Regions from separate parts of the Homo sapiens genome. Here all the other regions are linked to region 3. The links are contacts of gene promoters, found by promoter capture Hi-C in human tissues and cell types (Jung and others, 2019). All regions are on one chromosome and are shown on one strand. The core of a region is centred on a gene start or on the middle of the fragment in contact, and the rest is flanking DNA. Distances in the headings are between cores, read along the strand shown. Region 1 holds the start of CORO2A (coronin 2A). Region 2 overlaps TBC1D2 (TBC1 domain family member 2). Region 3 holds the start of ANKS6 (ankyrin repeat and sterile alpha motif domain containing 6). Region 4 has its middle 29 kb from the start of TBC1D2.

Evidence for each region. Contacts are between HindIII fragments. The study calls those that stand out against the background at their distance.
Region 1: a contact is called between the fragment with the promoter of CORO2A here and the fragment with the promoter of ANKS6 in region 3, in 1 of the 25 tissues and cell types used here (mesendoderm cells).
Region 2: a fragment that was not itself captured here is called in contact with the fragment with the promoter of ANKS6 in region 3 in 1 of the 25 tissues and cell types used here (esophagus).
Region 4: a fragment that was not itself captured here is called in contact with the fragment with the promoter of ANKS6 in region 3 in 7 of the 25 tissues and cell types used here (IMR-90 fibroblasts, adrenal gland, aorta and 4 more).

The regions. Positions count from the first base shown.
Region 1 is chr9:98,190,914-98,194,107 of GRCh38, reverse strand. CORO2A (coronin 2A) reads left to right here and starts at 1,471. Exons shown (of 12, transcript NM_052820.4): 1 at 1,471-1,549. RefSeq lists silencers at 1,142-1,691, 1,762-1,811 and an enhancer at 1,964-2,618. The HindIII fragment of the contact is 8,969 bases long and covers 1-3,194 here.
Region 2 is chr9:98,221,718-98,224,914 of GRCh38, reverse strand. All of the region lies in intron 5 of TBC1D2 (TBC1 domain family member 2), which reads left to right. Among named protein-coding and RNA genes, the nearest start is that of MIR6854, 5.9 kb to the left of the region's middle. RefSeq lists an enhancer at 1,046-2,245. The HindIII fragment of the contact is 3,073 bases long and covers 335-3,197 here.
Region 3 is chr9:98,795,305-98,798,795 of GRCh38, reverse strand. It overlaps ANKS6 (ankyrin repeat and sterile alpha motif domain containing 6), which reads left to right and starts at 2,241. Exons shown (of 15, transcript NM_173551.5): 1 at 2,241-2,663. The coding sequence starts at 2,305. LOC124902229 (a long non-coding RNA gene) reads left to right here. Exons shown (of 2, transcript XR_007061689.1): 2 at 1-348. RefSeq lists enhancers at 1,977-2,477, 2,478-2,978 and a silencer at 2,099-2,718. The HindIII fragment of the contact is 18,100 bases long and covers 1-3,491 here.
Region 4 is chr9:98,282,605-98,285,792 of GRCh38, reverse strand. No RefSeq gene overlaps it. Among named protein-coding and RNA genes, the nearest start is that of TBC1D2, 29 kb to the right of the region's middle. The HindIII fragment of the contact is 5,687 bases long and covers 1-3,188 here.

The sequences.
Region 1 (3,194 bases), core at 222-2,721, 600 kb after region 3:
CCATGTTGGCCAGGCTGGTCTTGAACTCTTGAGCTCAAGCAATCCACCTGCCTTGGCCTCCCAAAGTGCTGGGATTACAAGCATGAGCCACTGCGCCCAGCCATCCATATGCTTGATACCCAACTCTTGCACGCTAACACCAGAAGCATGCGTTCAGTCTACCTGCTGGGCAATCCAGCTCCAGAAGGTCTGAATCAGAGCTGTAGGATGGGGTTTTCAGGACCATAGTGCACACTGGGCTTTGGGTGGTAGGCAGGGAGCCCGTCCAGCTCTGGGCAGGGGGGTGGTACAGTGGACTATGGAAGCTGAGTCACATTCTAAGGAGAGAATCAAGAGCTCCCTAAGTACCTTGCCACTCCAAGCCTCAGTTTTCTTATCTGTAAAATGGAGGTAATAATAGTGGCTAAATAAAGCCACTATTATTAGAAGCTTAGAAGAAACGATACAGATATGTAAAGTAGTAACAGTGTACTCTGTTATCCACTCCACAACTATATATTGAGTGGTTACTATGTGCCACGGAGCAGTTCAAGGCCCTCAAGATAACCCGTCTCTACTGAACAAAACCAAGAGCTCTTCACAGACGTGGTGTGGAGTGGAGTGGCTGTTAGCTTAGTAGCCGTGGGAGCCATACTGCCTGGGGTTGCATGACTAGCCGGGTGATCTTAACCTAGGTACTTAATATCTCTGTGCCTCAGCTCTTTTGTGTTAAATAGGTGAGTAATGGTATCAACCTCATAGGCCTGTGTGACAGTGAAGCGAGGTAATGCACAGAAGGCGCTTAGAGGAGTGCGTGGCTCAGTAGTGTTAGGTGGGGGTGGTACCCAAAGGTAGGGCCTCCCCATTGTCTAGTGTCCTCAGGGCTCTCCAGCCAGCGAGGCTGGCAGCAGCGCCCCCGGCTGGTCCCGAGAGAAGGAAGGGCGTCCTCCTCGGTTCCCAGCGGCGCTCCCGGCTCCTCTCCTCCCTGCGGACGGGGAAGCCTCGGTAACCGCTGTAACTGCTCGGGGAAAGGAGCGCTTCCCTGGCCGGGCTCGGCGCGCGCACTGTACCCGGCCGGGATCGTCACATCCAGGGCTCAAACAGCCTTAAGAGGCCGACGCGGTTACTGTCTCCATTTCACAACGGGGGAAACTGAGGCTCCGGGAGGTCAGGTTCCTCATCCCACACCACGCAGCGAGGGCACGGCGCGACGTGGGGCCCGCGGCTCTGCCTGTCCCCAGCCTCCGCCTGGTGGCCGGCAGCCCGCCCCAATCACTGCGGCGTGTGCGCGCCTGTTCCCAGCACGTGTGCGCGCCCCGAGACCCGCCCCGGGGAGCCAGGAGCGCGGTCGGGGTCGTGGGGGCGGAAAAGGGTGGCCAGGGCGGACCCGCGGGGCGGGCAAAAGGGCGGACCTTGGGCCAGGCCCCCGCCCCGCCCTCCGGCCCCGCCCGCCGGGCTGCAGGGGGAGGCGGCGGCGGCTCTGGGCGCCGGGAGTCGGCGGGCGGCGAGGAGCGCGGAGCCGGAGCTGGACGCCGCCGCCGCCACCGCCACCTGCGCGGCAGTCATCAAGGTAGGGCGGCCCTGCGCCGCCGGCCGTGCCTTCCCGGTCTGCGCGATGGGGGCGTCGGGCGGGACGTGCGCGCTGCGGCTGCAGCTCCCGGAGAGGGAGGGATGCGGGGCTCGGAGCGCGGGGGACCTGGCTTTCAGCCCCTTTGCGTGACCTTGCACAAAGCACTGCTCCTCTCCAGGCCTCAGTTTCCCCGTCAGGATAGCTTGCTCATTGGTGGCCCCCTTCTCGCGGGGTTGTTGGGAGGGGCCGCCTCGAGGTCCGGGCTCCCGACGGCTCGCTGCCCTCATGAGCACTGTCTGCACCGCCCACCCCTCCTGCCCGCGGTGAGGGAAGCTCACTCTGGGCGCGGCCAGCCGGTCCCGACAGGCCCCTGCTGTGGCCCGGGTGCTCCATGGGACTCTTGTCGGGACCCTCCCCCTCTTGGCTGCGTTACCTGCTGGGCCTCAGCTTCCTGGTACAGGAAACGGTGGGGTGGGGGGCATCCCCGGGTCCCCGCCAAGCCGGCCTGGGCGTGCATGTGGGGCATCAGCCGGCCCGCCAAGAGGGTTTACTCGTCTGGGGCTGGAGGAGCCCTAGGTTGGAGGTGGCTGGACTCCTGGCGGCACGACTGCCTGGACCAGCCCCACGTAGGCACCTCGATTTAGAGAGTGGTATAGGATAGCTCCTTCCCCTTCCCCACCCGGGCCAGGTGCTGGTGCCTAGCTCTGTGTCCCAGAGCTAGTGTGTGATAAGGTGTGACACACACTAGCTGGTGTGACAAGGGGTGACTGGCGGCCACGCCTGGACCTCAGAGGGGTGACAGTGCCAAGGTGCTGTGTCCGCGTGGCATTAAGGGATGGGGCAGAGCACAGGTCTGAGGGACTGTGGTCCCAGGCTCCCTAGGTAAAGAAGACCTATGGCATCTGGCCCAGCCCCTCTGTAAGATCCCCTCTGGAAGGTCTTGCTGCCCCCTTGCACACTCCTTGTGATAGGAATCTCACTAGTTGTAAACCAAGCTGGAATCTGCTACCCAGTCACTGCCTCTCCTGCTGGTCCTGCTCTGGACACACAAACAACCTCTGACCCTTCCTCCCTCACCCTGGGGCAGTGGTCAGGTCCCTTAAATATGCTCATCTCCAGACCCAGCAGCCCCAGGCCCAGCAGTTTCTCCCATCAGATCCCAGGGAGCCAAGGCAAGAAGAGGGAGCCGAGGTGTCTGCCCTGGAGCAGGCTGTGGGGCCTCCGCTTTCCTGGGGCTTGTTCAGAACCCACCTGTGCATCAGGACTGGAATGTGTCTCCCCAGCTTCCTGCCCCTCCTGGGGACCGTCTGAGAGGTCCGGAGTGAGGAGAGCCGGAGCCCCTCTGCAGGCCTTTCCTGCCCCATGGGGCCTCTTCTCCACCTCCCTGATGCCTGCCCTGTTTGAGGGAGCAGTTTCTAGGAATCACTTCTCAGCCTCCTGGTCTTTCTTGTCCCCTTCATGACCTGCCCTGCACCCAGGGATTTTCTTAACAGCCAAAAGAGGGCAGGAGGCCCCTGGACAGGTAGTGAGCTCTTTGTCATCACAGGTATTCAAGCAGAACCTGGGGGTGAGCTACCTTGGACTGAAAGTCTATGGAATTCTAGGGCTGAAGTAGTGCCTATGACCTTGCCCTGCGGCCATGGTG
Region 2 (3,197 bases), core at 622-3,121, 570 kb after region 3:
GAGGAAGCTTTAGCCCCATTCATGAGAAAGCTGAGGTTCAATGAAGAGGCCACCTGAGCTACCCTCCTTAGAGTCACCTCGTTAGATACACCCCCCACGGATCCAGAATGGGAACCGAGGCCTGTGCAACTCCAAAGCCCATGCCCCTTCATCTGACCCCTGTAGGGCCCACCACTGATGAAAGTAGCAATGCTCTAAAAAGATAAAGGATTATTTTTTAAAGATGATTTATTGGCTTTTAAAAATTTAAATAAAGTGACAACTTATGACCACGTATCAAAATCTGAGATGAACCAAACAACTCGATTGAGAAATATTAAAAGTACCACTTGGGCCGGGCATGGTGGCTCACACCTATAACCCCAACACTTTGGGAGGCCAAGGTGGGAGGATCTCTTGAGCCCAAGAGTTCAAGACCACCCCGAACAACATAGGGAGACCCTGTCTCTACAGAAAATAAAATAATTAGCTGGGCAATGTGGTGCATGCCTGTAGTCCCAGCTACAAGGGAGACTGAGGCAAGAGAATCTCTTGAGCCCAGGAGGTTGAGGCTGCGGTGGGCCGTGATTGCGCCACTGCACTCCAGCCTGGGCAACAGAGTGAGACCCTGTCTCAAAAAAAAAAAAAAAAAAAAGAAAAGAAAAAAAAACACTTCAAAAAGCTTAATTTCATCAACCCCTCTATTTTTCTTTTCTTTTCTTTTCTTTTTTTTTTTTTTGAGATGGAGTCTCGCTCTGTCGCCCAGGCTAGAGTGCAGTGGTGCGATCTCAGCTCACTGCCAGCTCCGCCTCCCGGGTTCACACCATTCTGCCTCAGCCTCCTGAGTAGCTGGGACTACAGGCACCCGCCACCACGCCTGGCTAATTTTTTTGTATTTTTAGTAGAGACGGGGTTTCACCATGTTAGCCAGGATGGTCTCGATCTCCTGACCTCGTGATCCGACCGCCTTGGCCTCCCAAAGTGCTGGGATTACAGGCGTGAGCCACCACGCCCGGCCCAACCTATTTTTAAGAATTGGTCCTAAGACATTGCTTATAATCCAGACTTTAGGTTTCTTGAATTCATGACATTCTCACTCCTCATCTTACAAGTCCTACTGAGGCTCCCTCCCTCTGCCCTGGTTCCGTTCTTTTAAGCCTATTTTATTCTGGTACAAGAATTCTGGGGGTGGGAGGAGAGCCTCCTGGGCTGGTGTCTCAGTCTTAGATTCTGGGAGCCAAATGCGGGAAGGAGACAGCTAGATGTAATGAAATAAGCTTCAGAGTCAACTAACTCCCCAAATTGAGGGAAAGACACCCACTGGTCCTGCTCCTAGGGCAAGTCTGAACAATGATGTCTGTTGGTTATTTCCCTGGGCAGTCATCCAAGGTAACCTCCAAATCTCAGCTGAAGCAGAAAATGGCCTAGGCCCCCAGTTTTCCTGGAACCACAGGAATGTTAATCTCTCTCCACTGAGCCCTGAGAAGCTGACTTCTTCATTCTGGACGTTCCAAACATTCCCTTTTGGTTTGCAATCACTGTGCTGTCCTCACCCCAACTTCCTGCCACACCCCAGGGCTCCCACAGCTCCATGGTAGCTCTTTCCTTCCTCCAGGTCTTTACTGGGGCTGTAGCTTGGCCACATCTGGAGGGCCATCCCCACCCTCATCTCCCACCTGCTGCTCGACCATCTCTGGCCCTTCTCATTCTTCACAGTTTCTTTTAAATGCTCTGGACTGGTATTCCCCACAACCTCCACCCCAGACAGAAGTCATTGCCTTTCCCACAAACACCCTTGTTCCCCTGACTTGCAGTAGATCATTCCACTGTGGTGGGTCATGTTCATTCCCACCAGCCTTTGCAGTCCTTGGAGGTGGGAACTCTCACCACTCCCTCTCTGGGCCACGGCACCTGGCTCAGGGCCTGGCCTGGCACCGAGTGGTGCTTGGTAAAGGTTGGATGGATGGATGGGCATGTGGAAGGAAAAGAGAGAACCAGAGAAAGGATGGTCACTAGTCCTAAGGTTTCAGAAGATGCAGGCTAATGTGGTCTTGTCATTAGCTTCTCCAAAAAAGTCATGGTTTTTGGCAGTTTTCCTCCAATATAGAATTGTTCTTAGCAAATAAGGCTATCCAGCCAATCCACTCATTTTAATACTTTGGTGTGGTATAGTTGACATGTCTCTAGGAAACCATGTTTTTCCAAATGAGAAGCACAGAGCAGGGCAGTGTTGCCTGAAAGTCATACCTACCTGGTATTAGTTCCACGTGGACCTGGCTGCTGATGTCCTGATCCTGGCCCAGAACAAATTCACATCCCTGCTTTGGGACAGATAGGCCTGAGTCCAGGCGTGGCCCTCCCTGGGGAAATTACAGGCTTAAAGGCACAGGGAGCTGAGCAGACCTTGAGTTCCTGTGTGAATTAGTTGCCCCTGCTGAGGAATAAATCAAGCTCTATTGTTTCTGAACTTTCTAGAGTTCCTTCCACCAGCTTTGCAGGCATCGGCTGGTGGGCTGAAGGTAACTAGGCACAAATGGCTTGAATGAGGTCCTCTGTGTGTGGCTTTACATGGGGATTGCCAGTGTATTTCCTCTTTAACCCTGACTCAACTTGATTGGTAGTGACTGGCTGCTATATTGAGAATGATTCTGAGGCCTCAACTAGGGTAGGCTGTGCAGGAAGAAGTATGGGAGATTAATTAGTGATGTCTGCCACAGGGATGAGAGGGAAGAGTAATGCCACATAGCTGCCACCCCTGGTTTTCTTAGTTACTGAGCACAGGCTTTGGAATCTAGCCAATTGAGATTGAATTCCATTCTACTCTCTGCTGGGCCTCAGTTTGTTCATCCCTGAAATGGATGTGTATATGTCAGGGTATGGGTTCAGCTGCTGTGACAAAAACATCTCCACTGGGTGTGGTGACTCATACCTGTAATCCCAGCACTTTGGAAGGCCAAGGTGGGCAGATCATTTGAGTCCAGGAGTTTGAGACCAGCCCGGCAACATGGCAAAACCCCTTCTCTACAAAAAAATACAAATATTAGCCTGGTGTGTTGGCATGTTCCTGTGGTCCCAGCTACTTGAGAGGCTAAGGTGGGAGGATCAGCTGAGCCCAGGAGATTGAGGCTACAGTGAGCCATGTCTGTGCCACTGCACTCCAGGCTGGGTAACAGAGGGAGACGCTATCTCAAAAAAAAAAAGTTTCAAAGCACTGTGGC
Region 3 (3,491 bases), core at 992-3,491:
TTCTTTCTCTTACCTGGTTGTCTGGCTAGGACTTCCAGTACTATGTTGAATAGGAGTGGTGAGAGTCTTCTTCCAGCTTTTGCCTGTTTAATATGATGTTGGCTATGGGTTTGTCATAGATGGCTGTTATTATTTTGAGGTATGTTCCTTCAATGCCTAATCTGTTTTGAAGATTTTTATTATAAAGGGATGTTGGATTTTATTGAAGGCCTTTTCTGCATCTATTGAGATGATTATATGGTTTTTGTTTTTGATTCTGTTTATATGGTGAATCACATGTATTGATTTGCGCATGTTGAGCCAACCTTGCATTCCAGAAATAAAGCCTACTTGATCATGGTGAATTGACTTTTTGATGTGCTGCTGGATTCTGTTTGTAGTATGTCATTGAGGATTTTTGCAGCTATGTTTTTCAGGAATATTGGCCTGAAGTTTTCTTTTTTTCGTTGTGTCTCTGCAAAGGGCATGAACAGACACTTCTCAAAAGAAGACATACAGGCAGCCAACAAACATATGAAACAAATGCGCAACATCATTAATCATCAGAGAAATGCAAATCAAAACCACAATGAGATATCATCTACACCAGTCAGAATGTCAATTATTAAAAAGTCAAAAAACAATAGGTGCTGCTAAGGCTGTGGAGAAAATACACTGTTGGTGGGAATGCAAACTAGTTCAGCCACCGTGGAAAGCAGTTTGGAGATTTCTCAAAGAACTTAAAATAGAACTATTTGACCCAGCAAACCTACTACCAGGTATATACCCAAAGGAAAATAATTCATTCTATCAAAAAGACACCTGTATATTCATTGCAGTGCCATTTACAATAGCAAGGGTATGGAATCAACCTAAGTGCCCATCAACAGTAGATTGGATAAAGAACATGTGGTACAGAGCCAGATGTGATGGCTCACACCTGTAATCCTGGCACTTTGGGAGGCCACAGCAGGTGAATCACTTGAGCTCAGGACTTTGAGACCAGCCGGACAACATGGTAAAACCCTTTCTCAACCAAAAATACAAAAAATTAGCCGGGTGTGGTGGCACTTGCCTGCAGTCCTAGCTACTCGGTAGGCTGAGGTGGGAGGATTGCTTGAGCCTGGGAGGCAGAGGTTGTGGTGAGTAGAGATTGCACCATTGCACTCCAGCCTGGATGACAGAGCAAGACCCTGTCAAAAGAGAGAGAGAGAGAGAGAGAGAGAGGGAGAAAGGGAGGGAGGGAGGGAGGAAGGAAGGGGGATAGGGAGGGAGGGAGGGAAGAGAGGGAAGGAATGAAAGAAATGTGGTGCATATACACGATAGAATATGATGGAATACTACGGAATACTATGCAGCCATAAGAATGAACGAAATCATGCCCTTTGCAGCAACATGGATAAAGCTGGAGGCCATTATCCTAAGCGACCTAAAAAGAACAGAAAACCAAATACTGCATGTTCTCACTTATAAGTGGGAGCTAAACATTGAGTACACATGGACACAAAGATGGGAACAACAAACGCTGGGGATCGCTAGGCCAGGGAGGGATGGAGGGGACTCTGGGCTGAAGAACCTCTTGGTGGGTATTATGCTTACTGCCTGGGTGACGGGATCGTTGGGACCACAAGCTTCAGCGTCGCGCAATTTACCCATGTAACAATTTACCCATGTAACAAACCTGTACCCTTTAATCTATAATAATAGTTGAAATAAAAGGTGGGGGAGAGAGAGAGAACAGGAGGCGCTTTTAGCCCCAGCAGCCTGGCCCAGATGAAGGAGCGACATTAAGGGCACCGCAGGACACTGTGAGGAAACAATCCGTTCGTTCCTTAATTCAGCCGCTTCCTTATTCTAGAAGGGCAGGTTCAGTGCCAGGGGCTGCGGTGGGGTCAGCGGAGCCCGCTAGTAAAGTCAAGGCCCACGCAGCTGCGGACTCAGACCCGGGCCCAGGGCCCTGACCACAGCGTGAAGAGGGGATGGCGTGGCCGCTCCCACCTCTGCCCTGACAGGAAGTTTCTGGAGCCCCGGGACAGGGCGGCGAGAGGGCGCCGAAGAGGCAAAAGGGAACACGCGGGTCTGCGGCGGGCGCTCCTCTGAGCGTCCCTGGACTCCCGAATACGGGCACTGGAGGTGCGCAGCCCCGGCCCTAGCGCGCTCCCGGCACACAGCAGGCGCGCGGCCCTAGCCCCGGCGCGCTCCCGGCACACAGTAGGCGCGCGGCGCGGGCGGGTGGCCGGAAGGGGGCGCCTGCGGGCGGTATCCGGGGGCGGAGCCGACGCGGCCGGCGGGGCGGACGGGAGCGGGCCGCGCGTGGCGGCGGCGATGGGCGAGGGCGGGCTGCCCCCGGCCTTCCAGCTGCTGCTGCGCGCGTGTGACCAGGGCGACACGGAGACGGCGCGGCGGCTGCTGGAGCCGGGGGCGGCGGAGCCAGCCGAGCGCGGCGCGGAGCCGGAGGCGGGCGCGGAGCCGGCGGGGGCCGAGGTGGCCGGGCCCGGGGCCGCAGCGGCGGGGGCAGTCGGGGCTCCGGTGCCCGTGGATTGCTCGGACGAGGCGGGCAACACCGCACTGCAGTTCGCCGCGGCCGGGGGCCACGAACCGCTGGTGCGCTTCCTGCTGCGCCGCGGTGCCTCGGTCAACAGCCGCAACCACTACGGCTGGAGCGCGCTCATGCAGGCGGCCAGGTGAGGCGGCGGGGCCCGGGGGCCCGGGACCAGAGTGGTGCCCGGCGCTGGCCCGAGACGCGGTCCCCGGCGGCCGGATGCCCCGGGAGGTGAAGAGTTAAGGACTCCTTAGAGTTGGAATGGTAAACTTTGAGTAGTCTTTTGTAAACTTTGAGCATAGACGTGGAAACACTTTTGAATTAACATAAAATCAGATTCTTAGAAATTTTGGCCTTTCAGAATAGAATCTGGAGACAGCGAATAGAATTGTAGAGACTTAGAACCTTAGAGATTTAATTCATTTCTTATTGCAGTAAGAGTTTCCTCAGAACCTGCCTTCCCTTCCTGGCTTGGCGTTGAGGGTGCTGCGAGACCCAGGCAGAGTCCCCACCCAGGGCATTGGTGGGCAGGCCAGGCAAAGGAACGAGCTTGACCGGAAAGGTTTGAGTAGCTGTGGGGCAGGTGACCCATTTTGGAGACGTGGGGGAAGGTTTCTGGTAGAAAAGATGTTTATATCCACGTGGAGACCTGCGGATACCTGAGAATTAGCCAGGACATTACAAGTGGGCTGTGGGAAGGCATGATGGGAGGCCCATGCAAAGGCTTGGGTGCACGAGCTGGTAGGACTGGTAGAATGAGGTATGCGTAGAATGTATGAGTAGAATGATGTACTAGTCCTCCCTGGAGAGAAGGCAGATGCCAGGGAGTTGGGGGAGTGTGGGAGCTGAGAAACGCTAGCTATCCTAGGGTGCTAGGGAGTCATGGAAGGTGCTAGGGAGTCATGGAAGGTTCTAGGCAGAATGAGTGACAGGATGAGAGTTACGTTTTGGAAAAATTACTTTCCTTGAA
Region 4 (3,188 bases), core at 41-2,540, 510 kb after region 3:
GTACTGGGTAGATTGCAAAAAGCAGACTGGCGGCCATCAGCACCTCTGCCTGTCCAGCAACCACATCTGCCTTCCTGCAGCTCCTCTGAAAGCACTGCCCTACTTTTGGGGGAAAGCAGAAGAGAGAAAATCTGGAGGGCCGCCCTTGCTTCCACTGCTGGACACAGGATTGGCTCAGGGATATGCTCATTAACCAAGCCCAGCCAGTCAAAGCTTTCCCCTGCCGTTTTTAAGAAGTTTGAAATCTTGCCCTCCACGTGGAGAGCAATGAAAAGAGGGAAACTGAGCTCTCATTGCATCATTTAGGCTCAAGGACCAGTGATACCTAAAAATACATCCATCCTTGAGCTTGTAGGTTTTAAACTAATACATACCCTTTTCTGCTTACATAGAGTTGGGTTTCTGTCACTTAGAACCAAAAGAAATCTGTGGGATGCAGAGGGGCTCCACGAGGGGTTCACTGTTGTCTGAAACCCTCCTGGTATTAAGGAGACATGCAGGAGATATTTCCCTGGCCTCACACACGCTGCTGAACAGGGAGGTGGGTAAGGATACCCAAAGGGAAGATGGGGCTAAGAAGCCTCAGGAGGCTAAAGAAGGGTCAAGGAGCCAGGCTGAGGGCCGGAGGGCTGGCACCAAGCTGCGTGCCCAGCACTTGTCACCTGCCTGTCCCCTACCCCCTTAGCTTGTCACCCCTTACTTAGCCTTGAGGAGCAGGGTTTGTAGGTACTGGACAGTAAATGATTAACACACTCTCTGGAAGAGAAAATTGGTCCCTCCTCTGCCTCCACCCCACATCTGAAACCCCTGGCAAATCCCAGGGGCTAACTCCATCATACTTGGTCTGCCCTGTCCGTGGTCCTGAGTGGGTCCTGCCCAGAGATGACAATTCACTGTCTGGTTCCTCCAGGTCCCACCTTCAGGAGCCCCAGACCCTCAATGGGGCATCCACCGAGCCCCTGATCTTTGCCAAGGCCTGTGCTAGGTGCCAGGTGAACAGTGAGTAGGATATAGGTCTCAAGAAGCTCACACACTAATAGGAAGACAGATGCTTAATGAAGAAATGACAATAGCCTGTGATAAGCACCTGCTCCAGAATGGACATGCCTCCTGGGGGCCATAGCCTCCAAACAGGGCTAGTTTTGGGGGTTTGCAACCTATACAGTTTTTAAAGGGCCTCATGTTCGACTTAATGCTCTGCTGTAACTATTTTGAAATTCTAAATAACTTTTGAAAAGGGGGCTTAGAATTTTATTTTATTTTTATTTTTTATTGACTTGTTTATTTTTGAGACAATGTCTCACTCTGTTGTCCAGGCTGGAGTACAGTGGCATGATCACAGCTCACTGCAGCCTTGACCTCCTGGGCTCGAGCAATCCTCCCCACTCAGCCTACGAGTAGCTGGTACTACAGGCATGCAACACCATGCCTGGCTAATTTTTTATTGTTTAGAGAGATGAGATCTCTCTAAAAAATAAAATATTTAAAAAAATTTATGTTGCCCAGGCTGGTCCCGATCACCTGGGCTCAAGCAGTCCTCCCACCTCAGCATCCCAAAGTGCTGGCATTACAGGCACGAACCACTGTACGCGGCCCAGGGCTTAGCACTTTAATTTCATACTGGAGCCCACAAATTATGTAGCCAGTCCTATACCTAGACCTGAAAATGAGTAAAAGCTAGCCAGCAAAAGAGAGAAAGAAGAGGAGGGGAGAGGGAGAGAACTAGCAGCCCAATTCTGTAGAATGCATGCACCTGCAGGGGCTGCTGTGGCTGCACCAAGGACAACTAAGTTGTTGTGTGTTAATCACCTGTCATGGAATCCATGTGACTTCAGACTGCTGCGTGATCAGACAGCACGCATCCTGTCTATGTGTGATGATGTGAGTTACATCTGAAAAATCATCAGGCCTGGGTGCACATTTGTACACCTTCACTTACCTGGCTGCATGGCTTTGAATGATTCCACCTCTCTGAGCTTCTGATCCCTCATCTGTAAAATGGACATGATACCTCGCTCAGAGCTTCTCTGACAGTCAAAGAGGCTCATGTAGGGGAAAGTGCCTTGTGAACACTAAGCTTATATTTGTGCTACTCCCAGACAGGAGGAATGTAAAATGAGCAGCTTTAGTAGGTACAATGGGGCAGCCAACAGCCTAGTCTCCTCACAACAGACTGCATCTAGGAAGAATGTCATTAGGGAAAACATCCTGACATGCTGTGTTAGGGGCAAGGTGAGATTCTAAAGACAAGGCTAAAAGAGAGACAGCAGAACAATTCTGTTAGAAAAAGAACTAGAAGTTTGGGGTTAGAAGGAGAGAAAAATGAAAGGAGTGGGTGATAAATAACAGGACAGTGTGGCTAAAAAGCTTTTAAGAATAGGGATGTCAGCCAGGTGCGGTGGCTCATGCCTGTAACCCCAGCACTTTGGGAGGCTGAGGCGGGTGAATCACCTGAGGTCAGGAGTTCGCAACTAGCCTGGCGAACATGATGAAACCCCGTATCTACTAAAAATACAAAAAATTAGCCAGGCATGGTGGCACACGCCTGTAACCCCAGCTACTCAGGAGGCTGAGGTATGAGAATCACTTGAACCTGGGAGGTGGAGGTTGCAGTGAGTCGAGATTGCACCATTGCACTCCAGCCTGGGCAACAAGAGCAAAATTCCTTTTCAAAAAAAAAAGAATAGGGATGTTGAATATTTGATTTTAAGTCATTTGTGTTGCATGAAGTAAAAGCCTCTGTCTTCCCTTTATTTCACTCCCTCCTGCAAAATGTCCCTAAACCTTTGGTTACATTTACTATACAAGTAAAAGCTTTGTGAGTTTTAGTGGAAATAAAGAAAAACAGCAAATTCTATGTTTAGGTAGAGACCAGAGTAAGGATAAAAGAAGCAGCAGCCACAAGATGCAGAGGGAAAAATATGTTCTCTGGCCAAGCGCGGTGGCTCACACCTGTAATCCCAGCACTTTGGGAGGCCAAGGCGGGTGGATCACTTGAGGTCAGAAGTATGAGACCAGCCTGGCCAACATGGTGAAACCCCATCTCTACAAAAATGCAAAAATTAGCTGGGCATGGTGGCACGCACCTGTAGTCCCAGCAACTCTGGAGGCTGATGCAGGAGGATCACTTGAACCCGGGAGACGGAGGTTGCAGTGAGCCAGGATTGCACCACTGCACTCCAGCCTGG